Linked DNA regions of Homo sapiens: region 1 is linked to region 2. Evidence: promoter capture Hi-C in human tissues and cell types (Jung and others, 2019). All regions are on one chromosome and are shown on one strand. The core of a region is centred on a gene start or on the middle of the fragment in contact, and the rest is flanking DNA. Distances in the headings are between cores, read along the strand shown.

Evidence for each region. Contacts are between HindIII fragments. The study calls those that stand out against the background at their distance.
Region 1: a contact is called between a fragment that was not itself captured here and the fragment with the promoter of CEACAM3 in region 2, in 6 of the 25 tissues and cell types used here (H1 embryonic stem cells, IMR-90 fibroblasts, aorta and 3 more).

Annotation. Positions count from the first base shown.
Region 1 is chr19:41,722,061-41,727,628 of GRCh38, reverse strand. It overlaps CEACAM5 (CEA cell adhesion molecule 5), which reads right to left. Exons shown (of 10, transcript NM_004363.6): 9 at 277-395. The coding sequence ends at 313. Among named protein-coding and RNA genes, the nearest start is that of CEACAM5, 16 kb to the right of the region's middle. The HindIII fragment of the contact is 5,255 bases long and covers 1-4,065 here.
Region 2 is chr19:41,794,707-41,799,652 of GRCh38, reverse strand. It overlaps CEACAM3 (CEA cell adhesion molecule 3), which reads right to left and starts at 3,066. Exons shown (of 7, transcript NM_001815.5): 1 at 2,912-3,066; 2 at 1,705-2,064. The coding sequence starts at 2,975. The HindIII fragment of the contact is 7,198 bases long and covers 1-4,946 here.

The sequences.
Region 1 (5,568 bases), core at 189-2,688, 70 kb after region 2:
ATGTTAAAAAAGGACCAAGAGGCTTTGACAATGTATTGAATCTGGGAAACAAATGAGCAGAGGGTGGGGATAATTATATCTAAGAGACAGTGGCGTACAGGGAGCATGAAGACCAGGGAAGAAGAGACCTGCAGGAATTAGTGCTGAGAAGCAGGAGCTTGGGGGTAGGAGGAAGAGATCCAGTCCCAGATACAGGTGAAGAAATCCCTTCCCTCTCCCAAGCATGGCAGTCAGCACTGCAGGAAACAGAACAAGAGGAAAGGCCATTATACCTACCAGTCTTCCTGAAATGAAGAAACTACACCAGGGCTGCTATATCAGAGCAACCCCAACCAGCACTCCAATCATGATGCCGACAGTGGCCCCAGCTGAGAGACCAGGAGAAGTTCCAGATGCTGAATCGTCCGTCATGGAAAGAAAAGAGAAGGAATGAATGTGATGTTATTTTACAGTGGGGTGCCCCAGGTTCCAGCTCTCAGCATGAAGCAGTCTCTACTTGTTGCTTCAAGGAATGCATTAGTTTTGTGGGAAAGTTGCAATTTTTTCTCTCTCACTGTGTTGCTAGTTGGTGATCAGTCTTCTGTCAATTCCACCCTGGCCTGTCTGCACTCAGCTATTTCTGAAGGCTTTGAAATTTGAGAAAGTCTGATTGCTATTTTTGCGTGTCATTAGAACTTTCTATCTTTTCATGGTTGCATCTTTTTCTCAGTGTCTCAGTTGTGGTAGGCATAAATAAGTCTGTTGGGTCTCTGTGGCAGGGACTTGATTGGCAGAAGGCCCAGGCTAGTGCATTCTGTATTTACTAAGTCCGTTGCACAGAGAACTCGCTTCTCATGGGCTCCCACCAGGGGAATGAAAAGCCCAGTTCTGGGGGACTCTGCTTCTCTCTCATGGGTGAGGGGCTTGAGGACGCCCCACCAGCCTTGTGGAAACTCTGAGAACTGCATCACTATCTAAAACTCTCTCCTCTTTCTCCTTCTCAGGAATCAGATCTGCATCGTGGTCTGAGGGCTCTCTCAGGCTCCTCCCACTTCTACTCCACTTTTCCTCATGGTGGTTCCCCCCGGTAAATTATCTTGCACCTCTAATTCCATCTTGGCTGAATCTCAGTGGATGAAAACTAACATACCAGGCTTGATTCTTTGCACTTAACTTTTTTTTCTCTCCCCCATTTTTAGCCAGTAACCATGTCCTAGTGGGTTTTCATTTGGGGCTTGGCTCTCACTAGTCAACTCAGGCTGATGATTAATGCTATGTTAGCTACTGTAAATGCTTTTCTGGCATCTCATTTGATCCATACAATAACCCTGTTGGGTAGGCATGATTTCCATCTTACAGATGAAATGACAGAGACTTGGAGTGGTGAAAAAACTTATCCAAAGTCATATAATTAGTGAGAAGTGGATCTAGGATTTGGCTCTAGAACTGCCTAACTTCAAGCTAATAATAACAGTAGTGATAATAGCAGCTAATATTTATGAAGTTTCCCTCTGTGTGTAGCATTTTGCTGAAAGCTTAATCGAATATTACATTAAATCTTTAAAACAATACTGTTAAACAGTCATTCTTATTGCAATTTTCATTTTTCCTCCATTTCCTGGTGATGAGAATTATTACAATTTTCAGTTGAAGAATTGAAGGCTCAGAGAAGTTAAGAATCTTGTGTGAGAAATTTAATGGTAAATACATTAAATATAAAGAGAGATCTCAAATCAACAACCTAACTTTACAACTTCAGGATACAGAAAAAGAACCACCTCAAACCACAGATAGTACATGAAGGAAATAATAAGGATTAGAGTTTAAATAAATAAAATGGAAAATTGAAAAACAATAGAAGGAATCAATGAAACCAAAAGTTGGTTCTTCAAAAAAGATCAACAAAATTGACAATCATTTATTAGATTGACTAAGAAAAAAGAGAGAAGATTCAAATTACTAAAATCAGAAATGAAAATGGAGGTATAGCGGCTCACACATTTAATCCCAGCACATTGGGAGACTCAAGCAAGAGGATTACTTGAGGTCAGGAGGTCAAGACCAGCCTGGGCAACATAGGCAGACACAGTGTCTACAAAATTTCTTTAAAAAACTATCCAGGCTTGGTGTCACATGTCTGTAGTCCCAGCTTCTCAAGAGGCTGGGGCAGAAGATCACTTGAGCCTTGGAGGTTGAGGCTGCAGTAAGCTATGATGGCACCACTGCACTCTAGCTTGTGCTGGGCTACAGAGTGAGACCCTGTCTCTTAAAAAAAAAAAAGAAAAAAAAAAAGAAAATGGAGATATTGCTACCAATGCTACAAATTCTACAGAAATATTAAGGACTACAAGAATGCTATGAATAATTGTATGCCAACAAACTGTTGAATAACCTAGATGAAATGGACAAATTCCTGGAAACACAAAAAAATTTAATAGGCCTATAATTAGATAGAACCAATAAAAGCATTTGACAAAATTCACCATTCTTTCACAACAAAAACACTCTAATTATGAATGGAAGGAAACCACCTCAGCATAATAAAGGCAATGTGTGAAAAGCCCAATGCTAACATGATACTCAATGGAGAAAGACTGAAAGCTTTCCCTGTAAGACCAGGAACAAGACAAGAATGCCTGCTTTTGCCACGTCTATTCGACACAGTATTAGAAGTCCTAGCCAGAGAAATTAGGCAAGAAAAAAAAAGACATCCAAATTGGAAAGAAGTAAAATGATCTGTGTTTTCAGATAACTTGGACTTCTCTGTAGAAAACCCTGAAGATTAAAAAACTTGTTAGAGTTAATAAATAAATTCAGTGATGTTGCAGGATACAAAATCAACACGCAAACATCAGTTGTACTTCTACACACTAACAATGAACAATCTAAAAGGAAATTAAGAAAAAATTTCCAATTCACATTAACATAAAATAGTATAAAATAGTTAGAAATAAGCTTAACCAAGGAGGTGAAAGGATTGTACCCTGAAAACTATAAAACACTGCTGAAGGAAATTAAAGACAACATCAATAGATGGAAAGACATTTTTTTTTCATGGATGGGAAGTCTCAATATTGCTAGGAGGACAATACCACTCAAAGTGAGCTGCAGGTTCAACGCAATTTGTACCAGAGTCCCAGTGACATTTTTTGCAGAAATAGAAAAACATATCCTGAAATTCATATGGAATCTCAGGACTCTAAATAGCCAAACAACCTGGAAAATAAAGAATGAAGCTGGAGGACTCACACTTCCTGATTTCAGCATTTGCTATAAAGCCACAGTAATCAATACAGTGTGGTATTGGCATAAAGGAAGATATTGAAACCAAAGCAATAGAATATAGAGCCCAGAAAGAAATGCTTGCATATATGGCCAAATGATTTTTGATAACGGTGCCAAGACCATTTAATGGGGAAAGGACAGTCTTTTCAACAAATGATATAGGGAAAGCTGAATATCCATGCACAAGAACAAGTTGAATCTTTGCCTGATACCATATATGCAAATTAACCTAAAATGGATCAAAGACCTAAATGTAAGAGTGAAAAGTATAAAACTCTGAGAAGAAAACATAGGGAAAAAAGCTTAATGACATTTAATTTCACAGTCATGTCTTGGTTATAACAACAAATAGGCAACAAAAGAAAAAAATTGATAAACTGGACTTCATGAAAATTAAAAACTTTTTTTTTTTTTTTTTGACAGAGTCTCGCTCTGTCACCCTGGCTGGAGTGCAGTGGTGCGATCTCAGCTCACTGCAAGCTATGCCTCCTGGGTTCATGCCATTCTCCTGCCTCAGCCTCTTGAGTAGCTGGGACTACAGGCGCCCACCACCACGCCTGGATAATTTTTTTTGTATTTTTAGTAGAGACGGGGTTTCACTGTGTTAGCCAGGATGGTCTTGATCTCCTGACCTTGTAATCTACCTGCCTCGGCCTCCCAAAGTGCTGGGATTACAGGAACCACCGTGCAGGGCCTCGAAAATTAAAAACTTTTATATATTAAAGAACATTATCGAGAAAGTGAAAAGGCAACCTATGAAATGGGAAATATATTTGCAAATCATATATCTGATAAGGGATTAATTTCCAGAATATATGAAGAACTCTTACAAATCAACAACCACAAAAATCCAAAATCCCAATTAATAAATGGACAAAGGACTAAAGTAGAGATTTCTCCTAGGAAGATATACAAATGGCCAACAAGCACATGCAAATATGCTCAACATCACTAACACTTAGAGATATGCAAGTCAAAGCCACAATGATACTCCACCTCACACACATCAGGATGGCCACAAAACAATAAGTGTTTTCAAGGAGGTGGAAAAATTGGAACTCTAGTGCATTGCTGATAGAAATGTGAAATATTAGCTACTGTGGAAAATGGTATGGTGGTTCCTCAAAAAATTAAATAAATAATTAACATTTGGGGCCGGACACGGTGGCTCATGCCTGTAATCCCAGCACTTTGGGAGGCCAAGGCAGGCGGATCACGAGGTCAGGAGATCGAGACCATCCTGGCTAACACTGTGAAACTCAGTCTCTACTAAAAATAAAAAAAAAAAAATTAGCCAAGCTTGTTGGCGGGCACCTGTAGTCCCAGCTACTCGGGAGGCTGAGGCAGGAGAATGGCGTGAACACGGGAGGCGGAGCTTGCAGTGAGCCGAGATCGCGCCAGTGCACTCCAGCCTGGTCGACAGAGCGAGACTCCATCTCAAAAAACAAACAAACAAACAAACAAACAAACAAAAAAAAGAATTAACATTTGATCTACCAATTCCATTTCTGGACATACACCAAAAAGAATTGAAGGCAGTGATTTGAACAGATATTTGTACACTGATGTTCACAGCAGCATTACTCACAATAGCCAAAAGGTGGAAACAACTGAAAAGTCCATTGAAAGATAAGTGGATAGAAAAATGAGGTGTATCCATACAATGGAATGTTCTTCAACCTTAACAAGGAAGAAATTGTGATACATGGTGCAAAATGGATGAACCTTGAAGACATTATGCTAAGTGAAATAGGGCAGACACAAAAGGACAACTATTATATAATTCCATTTTTGTAAGATCGTTAGAATAGTTGATTACCTAGAGACAGAAAGTAGAATGGAGATTACCAGAGTTTAGGGGAGAGAAGGAGTTACTGTTTATTGGGTACAGAGGTTTAGTATGGTAAGATGAAAAAGTTCTGGAAATGGATAGTGTGATGTGATGGTTAGACATGAGTATAAAAAGACTTGATTTATTTTTTCCTTTTTTTTTTTTTTTTTGTGATGTAGTCTCACTCTGTCACCCAGGCTGGAGTGCAGTGGCTCAATCTCGGCTCACTGCAAACTACACCGCCCAGGTTCGAGCGATTCTCCTGCCTCAGCCTCCCGAGTAGCTGGGATTACAGGCACCCACCACCATGCCTAGCTATTTTTTTTTTTCTGTATCTTGAACTCCTGACCTCAGGTGATCCACTCGCCTTGGCCTCCCAAAGTGCTGGGATTACAGGGATGAGCCACCACACCGGGCAATATACTTGATTGATATTTATGCTGTTTCACTTAATTGTACACTTAGAAATGGTT
Region 2 (4,946 bases), core at 1,817-4,316:
AGGAAACACAGGATTTCAGGTCGAGTGAGGGCAGTGGTGCGCATCTGAGAGGGAGGCCCGGACATTCCTGGCACTGACTCTGTTGACACAAGGGATTTAGTTCTAGGTTAGGCTAATGTGTTAGGCTATTTTTTGTTACTATAAGGAAATGTCTGAGGCTGGGTAATTTATAAAGAAAAGAGATTTAATTGATGCAGGGATCTGCAGGCTATACAGGCATGGCACCAGCGTCTGCTCGGCTTCTGGTGAGACCCAGCAAGCTTACAATCATGGTGGAAGGAGAAGGGGGAGCAGGTGGTGTCATGTGGCAAAAGCAGGAGCAAGAGAGAGTGTGGAGGCGCCACACACTTTTAAAGAACCAGATCTCCTGTGCACTCAAAGTGAGAACTGACTTGTCACCAAGGGGATGGTGCTGAGCCACTCATGAGAAACAGCCCCCCATGATCCAATCGCCTCCCACCAGGCCTCACCTCCAATGTTGGGGATCACATTTCAACATGAGATTTGGAGAGGATAAACATCCAAACTATATCAGGAAAAATTGATTAATTTTCCATTTGCCCCTTACTCTCCAGACCAAAATCTCCCCCTCTGAGATGTGGATGCCCAAGAAAAAGGAAAGAGAACTTAGGACTGGTCTCAGGCCTGCAGATGTCTAATAATAACGCCAGCCGTCCCCTGGTGGAGAAGAGGCAGCTGTGGCTGCAGAGAGACCTCGTGTGACTCTAATCTGACACCTTTGACTTGTGTGACCCTAGTCGGTGACTGTCTCCCTGTTCCTCAATTTTTTTTTTCAATAAGTAGGATAAGTGCTATTTGGCTGTGACGTTGTTTGTGAATTAATCTCAAAATATTTACAATTACTTGACCTCAGCTGTGTATAGAGGAGCTGCCCAAAGGAACAGCATCTATGCTTATTTGCCTCCAAAAGAGAGGTCCCTGAGTCTGATCCCTTGTGGAAAAGGAGCTGCTGGGAGCATCTTCTCTCTTCTTTTTCCTCCCCCTGGGGATACTGAACTTCCCATGGAGTCATCTAAGTTCCCCTGGGCAGTGGGCTCATGCCCTAGTAATCTTGTCCATCTGTTCACTCCATGCTGAGTCTCAGGTAAAGGATGAGGCCCTGTCCTTGCCCAGGAGAGGTTCTTGGGGCTGGACCCTGGCTGGTGACCAACTCCAGGAGCCACGACCCTCAGACAGCTGGTAAATTCTTGCTCCCAGTCAGCCCTGCCCAGGAGGCCTCACTCAGCCCTGGCACAGGATCCCTAGGGTCCCCAGGGTCACCTGGAGTCAGGAATCTGGGACAGGGATTTGCACAGGGGCTCAGTTCTGGGAAGAGTTGAGCTTCTCTCTGAGAATCCTAGGGGGACCCCTCAGGCCAGGCCCTGATCCAGTTCTCCAGGGTCTTTCTTAGGGTCAGGTCCATGGGGAGACCATGGGGTTCTTTTCTGACACTGACCTTGCCCTGCTGAGTCCCCCCATCAGACTGTCCTTCCTCTGCAGCGAGTGTCTGCAGGGTCTGGATGCAGGAAAGGAATTCTGATCTGTGGAAGTTTGTCTCCCCCGTGTGTGTCCTGCACTAAATGTCCAAACCCTGATACAGAATGTAATGCAGAGAGGGCCACAGGCACAGCCCAGGCCTGACAATCCCATATGTGGGAAGTAGAACTGACCCCCAACACCCAGAGGTCATGTGGAAATACTCACGGTATACATGGAACTGTCCAGTTGCTTCTTCATTCACAAGATCTGACTTTATGACTTGTAGGGTGTAGAATCCTATGTCATTCTGGGTGACATTCTGGATCAGCAGGGATGCATTGGTGTATATTGTCTCTCGACCGCTGTATGCGGCCCCTGGGGTAGCTTGTTGAGTTCCTATTACATATCCTACAATTAGACTGTTGCCATCCACTCTTTCCCCTTTGTACCAGCTGTAGCCAAAAAGATGCTGGGGCAGATTGTGGACAAGTAGAAGCACCTCCTTCCCCTCTGCGACACTGAGCGGCATGGATTCAATAGTGAGCTTGGCAGTGGTGGGCGGGTTCCAGAAGTTTAGAAGTGAGGCTAGGAGGGAGAAAGCATCAGTCAATATTGGGACCCATGTATTGGGATGGAAAGATGGGGCCCTGGGTCCTGAGAGAGTCTCTTCACCCTTCAGCCTTGGAGAGTGTATGTGTGTCCCACTTGGTCAAGGTCAGTAACGTGACCTTTCTTTCTTCAGCACCTCTAACCTTGGCATTTTCCTGTGTGGAATCCCCTTCCCCAGGGGTCTGCATGGCTCCCTCCCCACTGCCCTCAGATCCTGCTCACATCAGGGCATCCTTGGGAGATCCCTCCCCTGACACCTCCTCTAGAGACCCTGGGTCTTCCCTTTCTGACCTTTTTCTGCTCTGTTCCCTCCAGGGCTCTTGTCAACACCTGAACTCACATTCTAGATCTCTTTGGGTGTCTATCTTCATCTCTGCAAGAGTGTAAGCTCTTTGAACACAGAGACTTGTCTGATATTTGTTGTACGCCAGTGCCTAAAATTTGATTGCAAATACTGGTGGATGAGTTAAGGAGTGGTGGTTATTTTGCAACTTGTGGTTGGTGGTCAAAGACAGGTTTTAGTGCCCTGGTTATATTTTTATTTAAAGTATCACCCTGATGTAATTCTTATTCTTATCATTTTCTAATTGTAGTGGCCAGTAATGATTAACTTGGAAAACATGATCAATGGATTTTCCTCCCTCTTATCAATCCCAGTTCAATGTGATTGTCTTGTTGTGACCCGTGTCCCTCTCTGATGTTCTCTCCCCTGAGGCTTCAGCAGAAGCCTTCTGTCCCCTATCAGAGCCCCATCCTCCCCAGGAGACCCCAGCCATTCTCTGTGATCCCTCCTCTTGCCCACTCCCAGGAATCCTCCACTCACCTGTGAGCAGAAGCCCCTGCCAGGGGATGCATTCTCTGTGGGGAGAGGCTGAGGGGGGCCCCATGGTCTCTGCTGCCTGCTCTTTCCTCCTCTGTGGAAAAGAGCCTGGGCTCCAGGAATGCTGTAGTCAGGGCTACTGTGACTTAGGCTCTGCTGTCCTTCCTCTTTCCATGCTGAGCCTCCTCCCAGGGCAGGAGCACTTTCCAGGGTCATGGGTGAAGCTCTGCCCAGGTCACCTCTCTGTCCCCTCCCCTCTCAGTTTTGCCTCATTTTCTCTTCTTCCTTTCTCCCTTCTGTCTACATTTGAGTTCCCCAGACCAGGCTCTGAGAAGCAAGGCTTACTTGGATCCCTGTTTCATAACAGGATGACCCTCCCTCCCCAGCGTGGACCTCTGCTCTGCCTTGGCCTTGGGTCTGTCAGCACCATGCAGAGTCCCTGGGGTCCCTGAACCTGGTGTTATTTTCTCTGTGACGGAGAAACTCCTTTGTGTGTGCAGGGTCTTCTTACTGTTCTCACATGTCTGGGAAGGTTGGATTTACTCCCAGCAAGGAGGTCACAGAGATGTCTGGGGTCCTACAAATGGATATATCTAGGGCTAAAGCCCGGATCTAAGATTCTGAGCTGTTCTTTCTGCAGCATTATGTGACTCTAATTTCCTGGGAGTAACTGAGAATGAGGCTTCACAGTGCTGTAGCTTTATGTCATCCAGACACCAGACATTTCTAGGCTGACTTTATGATTTTCTCTCTAGCTTGTACCACCTTTATTATTATATATTTCATCCTTTTTTCTAAATAAATTTAGTTTACAAAACATCCTGTCCTAGCAGGGATCGGTGGCTCAGATCTGTGATCCCAGCTACTCGAGAGGCTATGGTGGGAGGATGGCTTGAGGCCAGGAGTTGGAGACAAAACATCCTTGTCTTATGCAATATTGTCCATGAAATTACAGATTTGATGTGTGCTTAAATGTTTTCTCAATGTATATTAAAATAAACGCATAAGTATTAAAGTTTTTAAAAAGCTTACTTACGTTTCGCCTAAAATCAGTTTTTGGAAATGCTGACACAGTGGCATAAACATGAACTTTATGTCCAGATGTACCTGGGGACAGCTAATGGTTCTGTCACTTAACTATGTTGACTTGGACAAGTCACGTGGCTTCTATGATCCTTGATTCCCTGATTTGTAAAAGGAGGATGGTAAAATCCTCCTTGCAGAGTTGTTGGGAATAAGTGAGCTGCTGTGGGAGCCCCGTGCCCAGGCGGGTGTTGAGTACATGGTGGTTGTCATCGTGGTTATTGCTGTGGAATTCTGGTTTTCAAAGAGTGTCTACGCCGGAATATTGGGCTTGTGGCTTTCTGCTGATGTGGATGTGTGAAAAAGCTACTTTTGCTTGTTAGAACTTGTGGTGCATCTGTCATTATTTTCATTTCCCAGTTCCACTACCTATTTTCTCTGTGATGTTGGTCAAGTTGCCTAACTTTTCTGTGCCTCATTTACCTAATTTGTGAAATGTGGGTAACAGTACACTAGTGTGGGTGTGTTATTTCCCAGCTCTGACCACTAGAGGGCATAGAAGCACCGGCACCTACTAGCAATGGGCATATGGGCGCCCATGGTCTGTAAACATCATTCTCCCATGAAAGGAACCAGGGTTCCCTGGAGAAATGGCTGATTCCAGGGCTGGGGCAGGAAACCACAAGAGGAGACTGGAGCATCTTGCGGGGCCTGAGAGTAAGGCACAACTTGAAAAATGATGGGGATGTGTGGAAAGTATCACAAATGCCAACTAGAAGAAGCTCCCAATGGCCAATTTGGGGACAATATAGCAACATAATCAATAATAATAGTAATGTAGTCCAACCGATAAATACTTGAGAGTCCATGCTGATATATATATAAATAAGTGAATACATAAATAAATGAGAAAGAAGAACTAGCTCTTTCTTACAGCAGCGTTCCAGTTAATCAGTGTAGAAGCAATGATGGAAGCAGAAAATCACTGGCTAACACCACAGTAAGAATTGTTTAT